2 separate regions of the Homo sapiens genome follow, and region 1 is linked to region 2. Evidence: promoter capture Hi-C in human tissues and cell types (Jung and others, 2019). All regions are on one chromosome and are shown on one strand. Each heading gives the region's core, a stretch centred on a gene start or on the middle of the fragment in contact. The rest is flanking DNA. Distances are from core to core; before and after follow the strand shown.

Region 1 (7,349 bases), core at 1,885-4,384, 510 kb after region 2:
GCGGATCACGAGGTCAGGAGTTGGAGACCAGCCTGGCCAATATGGTGAAACCCCATCTATACTAAAAATACAAAAATTAGCCAGGTGTGGTGGCACATGCCTGTAGTCCCAGCTACTCGGGAGGCTGAGGCAGAAGAATCACTTGAACCCGGGAGGCAGAGGTTGCAGTGAGCCAAGATCGTGCCACTGCACTCCAGCCTGGGCGACAGAGTGAGACTCCATCTCAAAAAAAAAAAAAAAAATTGTAGGGTCTTGCTATGTTGCCCAGGCTGGTCTTGGACTCCTGGCCTCAAGCAATCCTCTTGCCTCGTCCTCCCAAATTGCTGGGATTACAGGCACGAGCCACTGCACTGGGTCCTGAGACTACATTTCTAATAAGCTCCTGGGTGCTTCTGATGCTCCTGGTCTGAGGACCACACTTAGAGTAGAAAGGTGCTACACCTTCCTGCCCTAACTGAGCTGACCCACCAAATTGTGAGAAATAATAGATGTAAGTTTTAGGGGTTTGTTTTGTAGCAAAAGCTAGCTGATATAAAGAAGGTGTGAGGGCTTAGACGAAATGTTTTGGAGAAGCAAAAGAAAGAGCAGCAGCACTCTAGTGCCCCCAACCCCACTGAGACATTTTCCTTAGGCTAGGAGGAGTGGGCAAAGGGAGAAGTCTATGGATCCTGCAGCCCAGGGCACCTGAACTCTTTTTCCTGGCAATGTGTCAGGGCAGAGCAGGAGTCAAAGAGAAGTGGCCACATGGTTCAGCTTGACAGAGATGATCAGGGGCACTGTGCCAAACCTTCCTGGGCCCCAGGCATAGCTTGGAAGCAGCAGAAGGGTCAAGTGACAGTGATGGAGACATCTCAGGGCAACTAGGTGAGCCAAAAACCCAATGATTCTAAGACCCCAGATCAAGAGTACATACAACCTTGGGAGTAGAGGAACCCTAGGAATTAATAAGGTCAATCAATGGTCTGTCATCCTAGCAGAAGGAAAACTCAATCAGAATTAAAGTTGTTTTCTATTAAGTGATTTCTATCACATCTAAGTTACTAGATCTGCTATCCATTTTTCACAATAGAGTGGTACAATAGAGTAGGCCCCGGTCCCTCCTATCAATCACCATTTCTCCTCCCTATTCAACTACACCCTCTCAACCAGATTATTTCCACTGATGTGAAAATTAAACAGTTTGATCTCTTTCTCTGTTTCTTCCTCTATCTCTCTCTCTTTAAAGTCCCATTTATTTGCATCCTCCTTTAGCATAGCTGCTGCTAACACATACAGTACCCTTGTGAGAATCAGAAAGTGCCCCCTCCAGACAGATGAATTGCAAGGGGGCTGACCCCATTCAAATAAGTACCCCTTCCTTCAGGCCACAGCCCCAGTCCAAGGTTAACAGCTTGAAGGCAGAACCTGGCCAGATTCTAGCCCGCTGTTGCATCTTTCTGCCAGGTACCCTCACTCTGCCCTTCTCCTACCCTTGTCCTGTTGCCACTGGTTTCTCTACCCACTCCTCACAGCCCAGCTTCTTAGTAGAGCTGTCTATACTAGTTCTCTCTGTGCTCTCATCTCCTACTCATTCTGTGGCAGGCCAGGTCTCCCTAACGGCTGAACAGGCAGGCCTCCCTAACAACTGTTTCAGCACTGAGTGGTTAAGCTAACTATTAAAAGCTAAGAGAGCCAGTGCCCTTATACAAAGGCTGGAAGGTAACAAAAGCACACCAAGAGTTTTGCCTAGGTCTTTCCTGGGCCTTGAAGCGTGACAAGAGAAGGAAGGAGTTCTTAACAGGACCCATTTAAGATTAAACAAGTTTCTCTGGGTGCAGTGGTTCATGCCTGTAATCCCAGCACTTTGGGAGGCCGAGGCAGGCAGATCACTTGAGGTCAGGAGTTCGAGACCAGCTTGGCCAACATGGTGAAAACTCGTCTCTACTAAAAATACAAAAATTAGCCGGGCGTGGCATGCACCTGTAATCCCAGCTACTTGGGAGGCTGAGGCAGGAGAATCACTTGAACCTGGAAGGCGGAGGTTGCAGTGAGCCGAGATTGAGCCACTGCACTCCAGCCTGGGCAATGAGTGAGACTGTGTCTCAAAAAAATAAAATAAAATTTAAAAAGATTAAGCACATGTTATTAGTGGTCTGAAGGAACTCCCCAAACCTCCATGATTTAGCAGGAGATAAGATAAGGGCAATCACCCCAGCACCTGGATCCATTTAGATTAAGTAAATTTACTGAGGCTCCAGAGGAAGGTCTTCAGGACTCAGACCTTAGTTATAGATTAGAAGAAGTTAATCACTTATGTCTTTAGATGAATGCACACTTACACGTAGACATGTAGCTTAGAAGGTATGTAAGCTCTGGAAAACTTTGTAATTTTGAGTTGGTCTGGTGATAATTTCCAGGCCTTCTCCCTGCACCTGGTTACAGAAATAAAAACTCTCTTCTTTCCCAGTTCACCTGCATCTTGTAATTGGGCTGAGAGAATAAGCAGTCCGACCCTCGGCTTGGTCCAGGAACAATTCCTCAGCACACTCCAATCTGAGTTCTGCCCCCATATTGCCACATCATCAGTTCTTTCTAAGCTTATCAATGGCTTCCATGGTTTTTTTTTTTTTTTTGAGTTTAGCTAGGATCACAGATTCACACCACCACTCCCAGCTAACTTTTTTATTTTTAATTTGTGTAGATACGGAGTCTTCCTATGTATTCCAGACTGGTCTCCAATTCCTGGGCTCAAGCAGTCCTCCTATGTTGGCCTCTCAAAGTGCTGGGATAACAAATGTGAGCCACCATGCCTGGTGCCATGTTACTGAATCCAGGACACTTTCATGGCTCACCTTACTTGACCTTTCAATAACATTTTTAACTGACACATTGTAAGTGTACATATGTATCAATAACATTTAACACTGTTGACAGTTCCCACCTTCAAATCATCTCTTCTGCCAACTTCTATGACATCACATGTGAACTGTTCTCCTAGTTCATAGCTACACCTTCAGAGCATAGCATTTGAGAGATTGACCTTTGGAGTCAGGCCACCCAAGTTGATATCCTTTATCCTTTGGAGTGAGGCCACCCAAGTTCATAGGCCAGCTCCACCACTTCAGCTCTATGGCCTTGGGCAAGTAAGTGAACCTCTCTGTGCCTCATTTATCAAACATTAGTTCTAATAGTACCTATCCTCCCCTATCCTGCAGGGTTGTTGTAAGAATTAAATTATATATATATATATATATATATATATATATATATATATATATATGCAGTCATGTGCCACCTGATGTTTTGTCAATGATGAGCTGCATATACAAGGGAGGTCCCATAAGATTCTAATACCTTATTTTTATTGTACCTTTTCTATGATTAGATGATATGTTTAGATGCGCAAATATGATCTCATGTTACAACTGTCTACAGTATTCAGTACAGTAACATGCTGTACATATAGCCTAGGTGTGTAATAGGCTATCCCATCTAGGTTTATGTAAGTACACTTTATGATGTTTGCACAATGATGAAATCGCCTAACAACGCATTCCTTGGAATGCATCCCCATCATTAAACAATGCACAACTGGGTGTGGTGTGTGTGTGTGTGTGTGTGTGTGTGTGTGTGTGTGTATAATCCCAGAACAGTGTATCCCATAGAGTAAGCTTTAAGTCTTATGAGTCGGTACATTGTTGCTGCTGTGGGAAGCTGATTCCCCAGGCCCTCTTCCTTTTCACTTTATGATCTCTTCAATGACTCCAAATTGACATTTCCAGCCCCAGCCTCTCCTTGGGGCTCCACACCTAGAAATCCAGTTGCCCACTTGACATTCCCTCTTGGTTGCCTCAATGGCATATCAATTTTAATATGTGAATGATAAAACTATCTATTCTATTATGCAGTCAGAAACTTAGGAGCCATTCTGGGTATCTCCCTCTTCCTCAGTCCCTCTTCTTCAATCCAATCTATCATCAAGTCAGGTGGGTTTTACCTCCTAAATGTCCTTTCAAATCATTCACTTATCTTCATTGCCATTGCTACTACCCTAGCTCAGAGGACCAACTGTCCCCTAGAGCACTGTAGAAACTGCCTAGCCAGTCTCTGTTTCTATTTTGCCCTCTTTTAATTTTTTTTTTTTTTTTTGAGACTGTGACTCACTCTGTCGCCAAGCATGGAGCGCAGTGGTGTGATCTCAGCTCACTGAAACCTCTGCCTCTCAGGCTCAAGTGATCCTCTCTCCTCAGCCTCCCGAGTAGCTGGGATTACAGGCGCACACCACCACGCCTGGCTACTTTTTTTGTAGAGACAAGATTTCACCATGTGGCCCAGGCTGGTCTTGAACTCCTGGGCTCAAGCGGTCTGCCTGTTTCGACCTTCCAAAGTGCTGAGATTAAAGGCATGAGCCACTGCACCCGGCCTAATTTTTAATCAGTGATAGATTTCGGTCAATGCCATTTCTCTGCTCAGAATCTGTCTTGGCTTCCAATTGGTCTTTGGATAATGATGCAAATCATTAAGGTTTGAAAATTATGTTGTTAGAGGTCTTGAATGCCAGACCTTATCATGGTGTCAAGCACATAGTAGGTGCTCAACAAGCATTTGTTGTCTGATTGACTGCTGGGAAGAAGCACTTTACATTTGAGCTTTGATAGCAAACTACTGATGATTTGTATTGAGGGAGTAAGTAACGTTAGCAGAAATGACTTTCCAAAAATAGTCTTGCTGGGATCCCATAGATTGGGATTGAGAGAGGAAGACCTATTGGGACAGAATGAAAGAGCAGAGAATTTGAAATAGATGGCAGTTGGAAAGAAAAAGATGAATAGAGATTGGGAAGGCAGAATCTGCCTGCTTGGCTGAGAAAAAAATAAGACTAGCATTTTAGACTGAGAAAAAGAAAAAAAGATTTCTTTTGATTCGTTTTTTCTGCTATCCTCTCTCTCTCTCTCTCTCTCTCCTTCTCTCTCTCTCTCTCTGACAGGATCTTGCTCTGTCACCCAGGCTGGAGTGCAGGGGTATGATCATGGCTCACTAAAGCCTCAACCTCCCAGGCTCAAAGGATCTTCTCACCTCAGCCTCCTGAGTAGCTGGGACCACAGCTGTGTGTCACCGGGCCTGGATAATTTTTTAATATTTTGTGGAGATGGGGTCTCACTATGTTGCCCAGGCTGGTCTCAAACTCCTAAGCTTAAGCGATTCTCCTGCCCTGGCCTCTCAAAGCGTGGGGATTACAGGTGTGAGCCACTGCTCCTGGCCAACATGCCTTCTAAGGATTTTCACAGTCTGGCTCTAATCTACCTCTACAATCTCCTTTTCTGTTTTTCATGAGGTTTCCAACATTATAAATAGGGGTGCTAAAATCACATCTTTACTACTTTCAAAACAATGGACCTAGAGACCAGACTTTTTCTTATGTATTCAAATATTTATTCAAAAATATGTATCAAGTGCAATCATGTATCTGGGGTTGTGCTGGGCAGAGGAGGTACACAATGAGCAAAACAGTCCCTGACCCTGTTGTCCCTTCCAGCCTAAGAGAGGAGACCAACTTTAACCAAATCAGTCTCCTAATGTGTGAATAACCCCAAACTGAACCAAGTGCTTGAAGGAGAGGAACGCAGTTCTGTGAGAGTGTATAACATAAAGGTCTGCCCCAGGGCTGGGCGCAGTGGCTCACGCCTGTAATCCCAGCACTTTGGGAGGCCAAGGTGGGTAGATCACTTGAGGTCAGGAGTTCGAGACAAGCCTGGCCAACATGGTGAAACCCTGTCTCTACTAAAAAATACAAATTTTCCAGGTGTGGTGGCGGGCGCCTGTAGTCCCAGATACTCGGGAGGCTGAGGCAGGAGAATTGCTTCAACCTGGGAGGCGGAGGTTGCAGTGAGCCGAGATTGTGCCACCGCACTCCAGACTGGGCAACAGAGCGAGACTCAAAAAAACATCTGCCCACACACACTCTCTCTCTGTCTCTCTCTCTCTGTCTCTCTCTCTCTCACTCTCTCTCTCTCTCTGTCTTCTCTGTGTGTGTGTGTGTGTGTAGTAAAGACTTCCCACAGGGGATGCTTGAGCAGAGATCTGAAGGTGGAGAAGGACCTGACTGAATGAGGTGGAAATGGAACATGATGGGTTCAAGAAACTTAGACCATGTAGCTATTCTTGCATATTTATTTTTTCATATGAACTTTAGTATCAACTTGTTTAGGTCCAGAATAAAAGCTTATTGGTATTCTTACTGAAAGTTGGTAAGTTTATAACATAACATAGGAAGGAGAATTGACATCTTCATGATATTGACTTGACCTATCTGTGAGAGCCACCATTTATGTAAGAGAACATAAACAGAGGTTCCAAGGATCAGGACATGGATATCTTTAGGGGCCATCATTCTTCTCCGCACAAGTACTATTTACAATAATACCAAAGAAGGCCAGGTGCAGCGGCTCACGCCTGTAATCCCAGCACTTTGGGAGGCCAAGGCAGCCGGATCACTTGCGGTCAGGAATTCAAGACCAGCCTGGGCAACATGGTGAAACTCTGTCTCTACTAAAAATACAAAAATTAGCCAGGCATAGTGGCAGGCGCCTGTAATCCCAGCTACTCAGGAGGCTGAGGCACGAGAATTGCTTAAACCCAGGAGGCAGAGGTTTCAGTGAGCTGAGGTCGTGCCACCGCACTCCAGCCTGGGCAACAGAGCAAGATTCAATCTAAAAATAAAATAAAATAAAATAAAACCAGAAAAATGAAATATTTAGGTGTACATTTCACAAATATGTCCTAGATCTATGTGCTGAAAACTACAAAACAATGATGAAGGAAATAAAAGAGAGCTAAATATATGGAGATTTAGAAATGTATGGAGAACTGTGTTCATGGATTGGAAGACTCAATATTGTGAAGATGTCAATACTCTAAAAATTTATCTATAGATTCAACACAATTCCAGTCCAAATCCCAGCAGGATTCTTTATAGATATCAGCATGGTGACTCTAAAATTTACATGGAGAGGCAAAGAAATTAGAATATTCAAAACATTTTTTAAAAATAAGAACAAAATTGGAAGATTCATGCTACTTAATTTTGAGACTTACTATAAAGCCACAGTACTCAAGACAGTGTGGTATTGATGCAAGGATGGATACGTAGGTCAATGTAATAGAATAGAGAGTGCAGAAATTTACCCATACTTTTTACAAAAATTCACTTAAAATTAATCATAGACCTGGCTGGGCCTGGTGGCTCATACCTGTAATCCCAGCACTTTGGGAGGCCAAGGCGAGTGGATTGCTTGAATCCAGGTGTTTGAGACCAGTCTGGGCAACATGGTGAAACTCTGTCTCTACAAAAAATAAAATTAAAAACAAAA
Region 2 (7,498 bases), core at 3,041-5,540:
GAAAAGGCAAGGGGACCCCATCCCCATTCTACCCTCAGAGGTCACAGTCACTTTACCACAGTCATACTTCTGGGTGAATTAAAAATTTGTTCCCTTTCATTTAAAAATAAAGAAGTTTAAGGCTGGGCGTGGTGGCCCACACCTGTAATCTCAGCACTTTGGGAGGCCAAGGCAGGAGGATTGCTTGAGCCCAAGAGTTCAAGACCAGCCTGGGCAATATAGGGAGACCCTGTCTCTACAAAAAATAAATAAAAATTAGCTAGGTGTGGTGGCACATGCCTGTGGTTCCAGCTACTCAGGAAGCTAAGGTGGGAGGATCGCTTGAGCCTGGGAGATTGAGGCTGTAGTAAGCCATGTTTGCATTATTGCACTCCAGCCTGGGTGGCAGAGCCAGACCTTGTCTCAAAAAAAAAAAAAAAAAAAAAAAAAGTTGAGGTCCCAGTTCTGGGTTGAGAAAGAATGTCCCAAGATTATAGGAATTCCTGATATTTTTTCCCATGGGCTCAGTGAAAACAAGAAACTTCTTTCTCTATCAGTAATTACATTAAGCCTATTCCCTTGGGCCATAGAAAGTGATAAATCCCTTCTTTAGAATTCGCAGGGCCATAAACGCATCACACTCAAATGCACATGAAATTCCATCATGAATTCTATTTTGTGCAGTAAACAAAGACGGTCCTGGTTGATGCTTTATACATCCAAAAGCTAGTTTTCACTTTCAAGGAAGAGAGGCACCTGTTTTTGTTTTGTTTTGTTTTGTTTGAAAATTAAGGTCTTGGCCTGACCCAAGGCAGATAACTGGGTCTTTAACTTTCCATGGTTATCTGAAGGTATTAAGGAAAGACAGGAACTAGAGTGCCCCAGCATCCAAACAAAACTGGGAATGGGCTGGGCGTGGTAGCTCACGCTTGTAATCCCAACACTTTGGGAGGTCGAAGTGGGTGGATCTCTTGAGCCCAGGAGTTTGAGACTAGCCTGGGCAACATGGTGAAACACCATCTCTACAAAAAATACAAACTAGCTGGACATAGTGGCACGCACCTGTAGTCACAGCTACTAGGGAGGCTGAGGCAGGAGGATCCCTTGAGCCCCAGGAGATCAAGGCTGCAGTGAGCCGTGATCACACCATGGCACTCCAGCCAGGGCAACACGGTGAGACCCTGTCTCAACAAAAACAAAACAAAAAATAAACAAAAACACCCCCCCCCCCAAAAAAAAACTAGGAATGTTGCCCCTCATTCAAAGAGGAAGAGGAAAGTATTGACCATCCATAATTAAACCCTGGGTCAAAGTGGGAGGATATGGAGTGGGGACAGACAGCGTGACAAGTGTAGTCAGTGTGCTTTAACAAGAAGGGTGCCGTGGTGACCGCCCCTCCCCTGGGAAAAGGTAGCTGGCTGATCTGAGTCCAGCCTTCATCCTTACCCATGGTCACTCGCTGTACTTGCTTGGTGAATGAATCCCACCGGCAAACCTTTTTTGCAGGAATGTCTACAAAGAGCAGAGAGTTGGACACTTCCTCCCATACTGGAGACTCACCACACCGGCAGTTCTCTGGCAAAACACACTCAATCTTAATGGAAGACATGGTCGCAGGGGAGATCTATTGAAGGTAACAGAGGTGAGTGAAAGGTCATCGCACAGAACAAATACAGTAAAACACCTGGCTAAGAACTGGCAAGGCTGGATACACTTCCCCCAGATCAGAGCAGGATATGCAATGTGACAGGGAGAGACACATAGGCAAAAGAAAAGAGCTGATAACAGGGACCATGAAACATCTTCAACCAACTTACCAGTGACGTGTTTCTCGAATGATCTTTCAAAAAGAAAACAAAAAAGTGACACTCTGACCTCCACTCCTTGGTGTTTGTGACCCTCAGAGAACTGGCTGTTGAAATAGTGCAAGGCCGTCCTTTATGTCAATACCCTGGGCCCCAGGGCGGGTCAGGGAGCTGGCAGTTTGCTCATTGGTGGCCCCTCTGGGTGTCTGCAGGGCACCTTCTGCTCCCCCACCTTCTGTTGATGCTGTTGAGCCCCTCTATGAGGGTGCAGAGGCCAGGGCCCGCCACACCTGCATTTTTCTGAGCTGCTTTACTGATTTATTTATTTTTCTTCTCTGTGTGGTTGATTTTTATGAACTGCATTTTTAGGACTATGTTCACCCCAATGAGAACTCGCTGAATTCGAACTAACACACATTTTCCAACGCAGACCATGGAAGGAGTGGAGAAAAGGACAGCATCGAACCACCCTGGCAGGAACTGACAGGCCCTCAGTGATTTCTTGCTTCCCAGGAAGACACCGTGCCAGTTTGGCAAAGAGTGTTAGACTCCACAGGAGAGGAACAGTCTATGCTGGGACTTTAGGCCAGAGACCATGACCAGCGAACTGGGAGAAGACAGAGAAAAATTATCTGAAAAGGAGAAAAAATCAGATAAGAATCCCATGTGGGAGAGGAAAGACAGGCAACTTTCAAGAGCAATCTTTTCTTTCTGTACCTCTGCCCTGAGTAGGCGGTTTCCAGGAATGATCCACACTGCCTGCATTTGTCAGGCACAGGGGCTCAGGCCTGTAATCCCAGCTCTTTAGGAGGCTGAGGCAGGAAGATTGCTTGGGCCCAGGAGTCTGGGACTGGTGTGGGCAACATAGTGAGACCCTGACTCTACAAAACAACAAAAAATTAGCGGGTGTAGTGGCACATGCCTGTGGTCCTAGCTACTCGGGAGCCTGAGGTGGGAGGATCATTTGAGTTCAGGAGGTGGAGGCTGCAATGAGCCGTGATCATGCCACTGCACTCCAGCCTGGGCAACAGAGCGAGAACCTGTCTCTAAATAAATAAATAAAAATGGCCTGCATCTTCATCCTTCTCCCAGGGTAGCTATCTGCTTTGAAGTAAGTGGTCCTACACATGATGGGCAAATGAATAGAGAGGGAAAAAAGAAAAATAATGTTTGATCTAATATTTCCTTCAATAAACTACATTTTAAAAAAGAAACACAGGCCGGGCATGGTGGCTCATGCCTGTAATCTCAGCACTTTGGGAGGCCGAGCTGGGTGGATCATGAGGTCAGGAGTTCAAGACCAGCCTGACCAACATGGTGAAACCCCATCTCTACTAAAAATACAAAAAAATTGGCTGGGCACAGTGGCGGGTGCCTGTAATCCCAGCGACTCATGAGGCTGAAGCAGGAGAATCGTTTGAACCCGGGAGGCAGAGGTTGCAGTGAGCCGAGATTGCGCCACTGCATTCTAGCCTGAGCGACAGAGTAAGACTCCGTCTCAAAAAAAAAACCAAAAAAACAAAAAAACAAAACAAAACAAAACAAAAACAGAAACCAAACCAAACCAAACCAAAACAAAACAAAAAAAAAAACAAACAAAAAAACCTCAGCCCAAACTGGTCCCAAATACAAACTGCCTGCATCTGCAGCAGCATTTGAAATGTTTTTTGGCTATTAAAAATGGGCTCAGGCCGGTGCTGGTGGCTCGTGCCTGTAATTCCAGCACTTTGGGAGGCTGAGGTGGGAGGAACATTGAGGTCAGGAGTTTGAGACCAGCCTGGGCAACATGGTGAAAGCCCGTCTCTACAAAAAATACAAAAAATTAGCCGGGCTTAGTGGTTCGAGCCTGTGGTCCTAGCTACTAGGAAGGCTGAGGCCGGAGAATCGCTTGAACCTGGGAGGAGGAGGTTGCAGTGAGCTGAGATTGGGCCATGGCGCTCCAGCCTGGGCGACAGACTGAGACCTTGTCTCGGAAAAAAAAAAAAAAAAAAAAGCGGGGGTGGGGGGCAGTGTTCAGACTACAAAGGCCTTCATCCTATCAGTCTTAGATAAGGCTCAAGAGCAGTGGCACGACTTTTGCAATAGCGACTTTTAACCCCATGCTCCCTAGTAGAAGCCGGTGGGGAGGGGACGGGGGTGCCAAATGTTCCATTTAGGCCCGGCCCGTGACCACAAAGGGGTGGCTGGGCAGCAGGGAGCGGGGACGGGGCTTCAGGTGCCCGCGCTGCACCCGGGGTACCTGTGCGGGTGAGAGGCCTCCACAACAATCTGGTAGAGCCGCTGGGACCTCGGGCGACGGCGACGGCGACAGCGACAGAGAGGCCCTGGGAATCTGAAGGTTGAGCCTGCCTCCTCCCTGGCGCAGGCTTTGCAGAGGGCGCACCAGCCAGCCCGGCTGAACGGGCCCGGGTCCCCGGGTGGGCACAGAGCAGTCAGTCTCCTGGCGCGATCTCCTTCTGGCAGTCAGCTGTCAGTCGCCTTCTGGGAGATCGGGATGAGCGGGTCTGGCTCTGTTGTCGCCGGGGCCTTTCCTTTCCAGGGAGGGGGCGGGGAGGCCGGCCTGGCTCGGGCACTCGCCAGGATGGAGATTTCTCAGGCGGCTCGAAGGTCAGGCAGCGGGCCGAGGGGAGGGGAAACGCCTCCCGGGACCCGGCGGCTTGGCAGGTGGATGGCATGGGCCTGGGACCCCGCCCCGTCCCCGTCCCCGTCCCCCGCGGCTGGAAGAATCCTGCAAAGCCGCCCCTGGCAGGCCCGGGGATGGTGGGTACAGGCTTACGGCCCAGTGAACCTGAGCTTTGGAGTTTGGACGAATAGCTAGTTTACCTCTTACTTCAACCAAGAAAAGTTGTTAAATGCCGAACAGAGAGAGACTGGGACGGTTAAACCCAAACAGGTTAAAAAGGAAAGAACAAAGCTCCTCTCCATCCTAGTGGAGAAGACCCTGGTGGCTGAAGGCCAACTCTTGCAAAAACGTTTTTGGTGGGGGAAGAGGAAAGGCTCGATTTCATTTTCAAATCATATGGAAAACACATTCCTCAACAACACAGCTCCACAACCCCATTCTCAGCCTAAATGTATTCCTGGTCCTGCCATCTGACAGTCTGGGCTTTCTCCAAATAACCCATATTAAAAAAAAAAATGGCCAGGGCCGGCACAGTGGCTCAGGCCTATAATCTCAGTGCTTTGGGAGGCCGAGGAGGGTGGATCGCTTGAGCCCAGGAGTTTGAGATGAACCTGGCAACAAAGTGAGACTTCGTCTCTACTAAAAATTTAAAAAAACCCAAAAAACAACAAAACAAAACAAAACAAAACAAAACTGGCCAAGTGTGGTGGCTCATGCCTGTAATCCCAGCATTTTGGGAGGCTGAGGCAGGCAGATCACCTAAGGTCAGGAGTTTGAGACCAGCCTGACCAACATGGTGAAACCCCGTCTCTACTAAAAATACAAAATTAGCCGGGCGTGGTGGCACATGCCTGTAATCCCAGCTACTCGGGAGGCTGAGACAGGAGAATTGCTTGAATCCGGGAGGCGGAGGTTGCAGTGAGCTGAAATTGTGCCATTGCACTCCAGCCTGGGCAACAAGAGTGAAACTACTTCTCAAACATATATATGTATTTCTGGGTGTGGTGGTGCATGCCTATAGTTCCGGCTACTCAGGAGGCTGAGGCAAGAGGATCACTTGAGTCCAGGAGGTTGAAGCTACAGTGAGCTGAGTTTATGCCACTGCACTCCAGCCTGGGTGACAGAGTGAGACTGTCTCAAAAACAAACAAACAAAAATAACTCTCTTCCTCTACTTCCTCAGTGCTGATGTCTCCCTAACCTTATCTCAGCCCAGATGTCGCCCCCAGGATACAGGCCAGCAGCTTAACTGAGCTGACCCAAACCAATCACATCATTTCCCACCAACCTCCTGAGCACTCTGTCCTGGGAAATGGGCTGTGGTGCAGCCAACTGGCTGTGCAAGAAGCCCTGACACCTCGCGAGCCTCCTCTTGGTCCCTAACTCAAGTCCAGTTAGTCACCAGGTCATAGAATTGTCCCTTTAATGTCCTTCTATGTTGGCACTGCCTTAATTCATTCAGGCTTTCCCCATTTCTTGCCTAGATTGTTTTAATCTTCCCGGAGGCCTCATCTCATCCCTGTGGATCTGCTGCCAAAATGACCTGCTAGACCGTGAGTCTTGCAGGGGAGGGGATGTATCTTATTCACCCTCACCTCCCTGGGTCCTGCCACAGTGCTGACACATAGAGGTTGTTCAACTATATGCTTTTCAGGCTGGGCACCGTGGCTCACCCCTGTAATCCCAGCACTTTGGGGGGCTGAGGCAGGAGGACCACTTGAGGCCAGGAGTTTGACACCAGCCTGGGCAACACAGAAAGATCTCATCTCTATTAAAAAAAAAATAGCCAGGCGTGGTGGCTGTGATCCCAGTTACTGAGGAGGCTGAGGTGGGAACATCGCTTGAGCCTGGGAGATCAAGCTTGCAGTGAGCCGTGATAGCGACACTGCACTTCAGCCTGGGTGACAGAGTGGGATGTGGGATCCTGTCTCTAAAAACAAAACAACAACAACAAAAACTATATGCTTTTTTTTCTTTTTCTTTTTTTTTGCTGAGAGGGGTACCTTTATTTAGAAAAAAATTTCAGTTTTACAGAAAAGCTGCAAGAATAATAGAAAAAATTCATGATTACCCTTCACCCAGATTCCCCAAATGTTAAGTTTACCACATTTGCTTTACCCTTCTCTCTCTTATTTACATATACATCTATATATAATTTTTTTCTGACCAGTTTGGGAGCAAGTTGCAGACATGATGCTCCTTTACCTTTAAATACTGTAGTTCAGTGTGTGTTTCCTGAAAGCAAGGGTATTCTCTTCCATAAACACAGCACGATGGTCAAAATCAGGTAAATTAACATTGATACAGGATTATCTATTGGAGTCTCACCAATTGTCCAACTAATGTCCTTTATAATAAAAGGAAAAAAGATGTTTCATGCCCAAACCCAATCCAGGGCGAGGCATTGCATTTAGCTGCATTTAGTTGCTTTTCACCTGGAACAGCTCCTCAGCCTTTTATTTTTGTTTCCTGACATCATTGACATTTTTGGAATTCAAAATGTAGAATGTCCCTTAATTTGGGATTCCTTGATTTTTCCTCATGGTCAATTCAGGCTATGCCTTTTTGGCAATGCTACAAAAGTGATGCTGTATCCTCACCATCTGCAGGCAAACGAATGTTGATTTGTTAACTTTGATCATAATATGTGGTTATGAATCTTTTTAAATTGGCTGGGCATGGTGGCTTATGCCTGTAATCCCGGCACTTTGGGAGGCCGAGGCGGGTGGATCACTTGAGGTCCCAGCCTGGCCAACATGGTGAAACCCCATTTCTACTAGCTGGGCATGGTGGCGTGTGCCTGTAATCCCAGCTATTTGAGAGGCTGAGGCAGGAGAATTGCTTGAACCCGGGAGGCGGAGGTTGCGGTGAGCCAAGATCATGCCACTGCACTCCAGCCTGGGCAAGAGAGTGAGACACTGTCTCAAAAAATAATAATAAATAAAATAAAAAAAAAAGTGTAGTCATAGCACCCTGCAATGGACCCCGAGCACACAAGGCTCTTCGAATTTGTGGGGAGTCCCTTCTTGACCTCTCTCATGTTCTAGCCATGTTCTCTGCTTCTTGACTTTGAACTTGCTATTCCCTCTGCC

The links. The method cuts DNA at HindIII sites, captures the fragments that hold promoters and counts their contacts. A contact is called where the count stands out against the background at its distance.
Region 1: a contact is called between a fragment that was not itself captured here and the fragment with the promoter of RGN in region 2, in 1 of the 25 tissues and cell types used here (IMR-90 fibroblasts).

What each region holds. Positions count from the first base shown.
Region 1 is chrX:46,563,232-46,570,580 of GRCh38, reverse strand. No RefSeq gene overlaps it. Among named protein-coding and RNA genes, the nearest start is that of CHST7, 6.9 kb to the left of the region's middle. The HindIII fragment of the contact is 5,107 bases long and covers 581-5,687 here.
Region 2 is chrX:47,075,235-47,082,732 of GRCh38, reverse strand. RGN (regucalcin) reads right to left here and starts at 4,290. Exons shown (of 8, transcript NM_152869.4): 1 at 4,024-4,290; 2 at 1,797-2,416; 3 at 1,426-1,603. The coding sequence starts at 1,588. The HindIII fragment of the contact is 11,720 bases long and covers 1-7,498 here.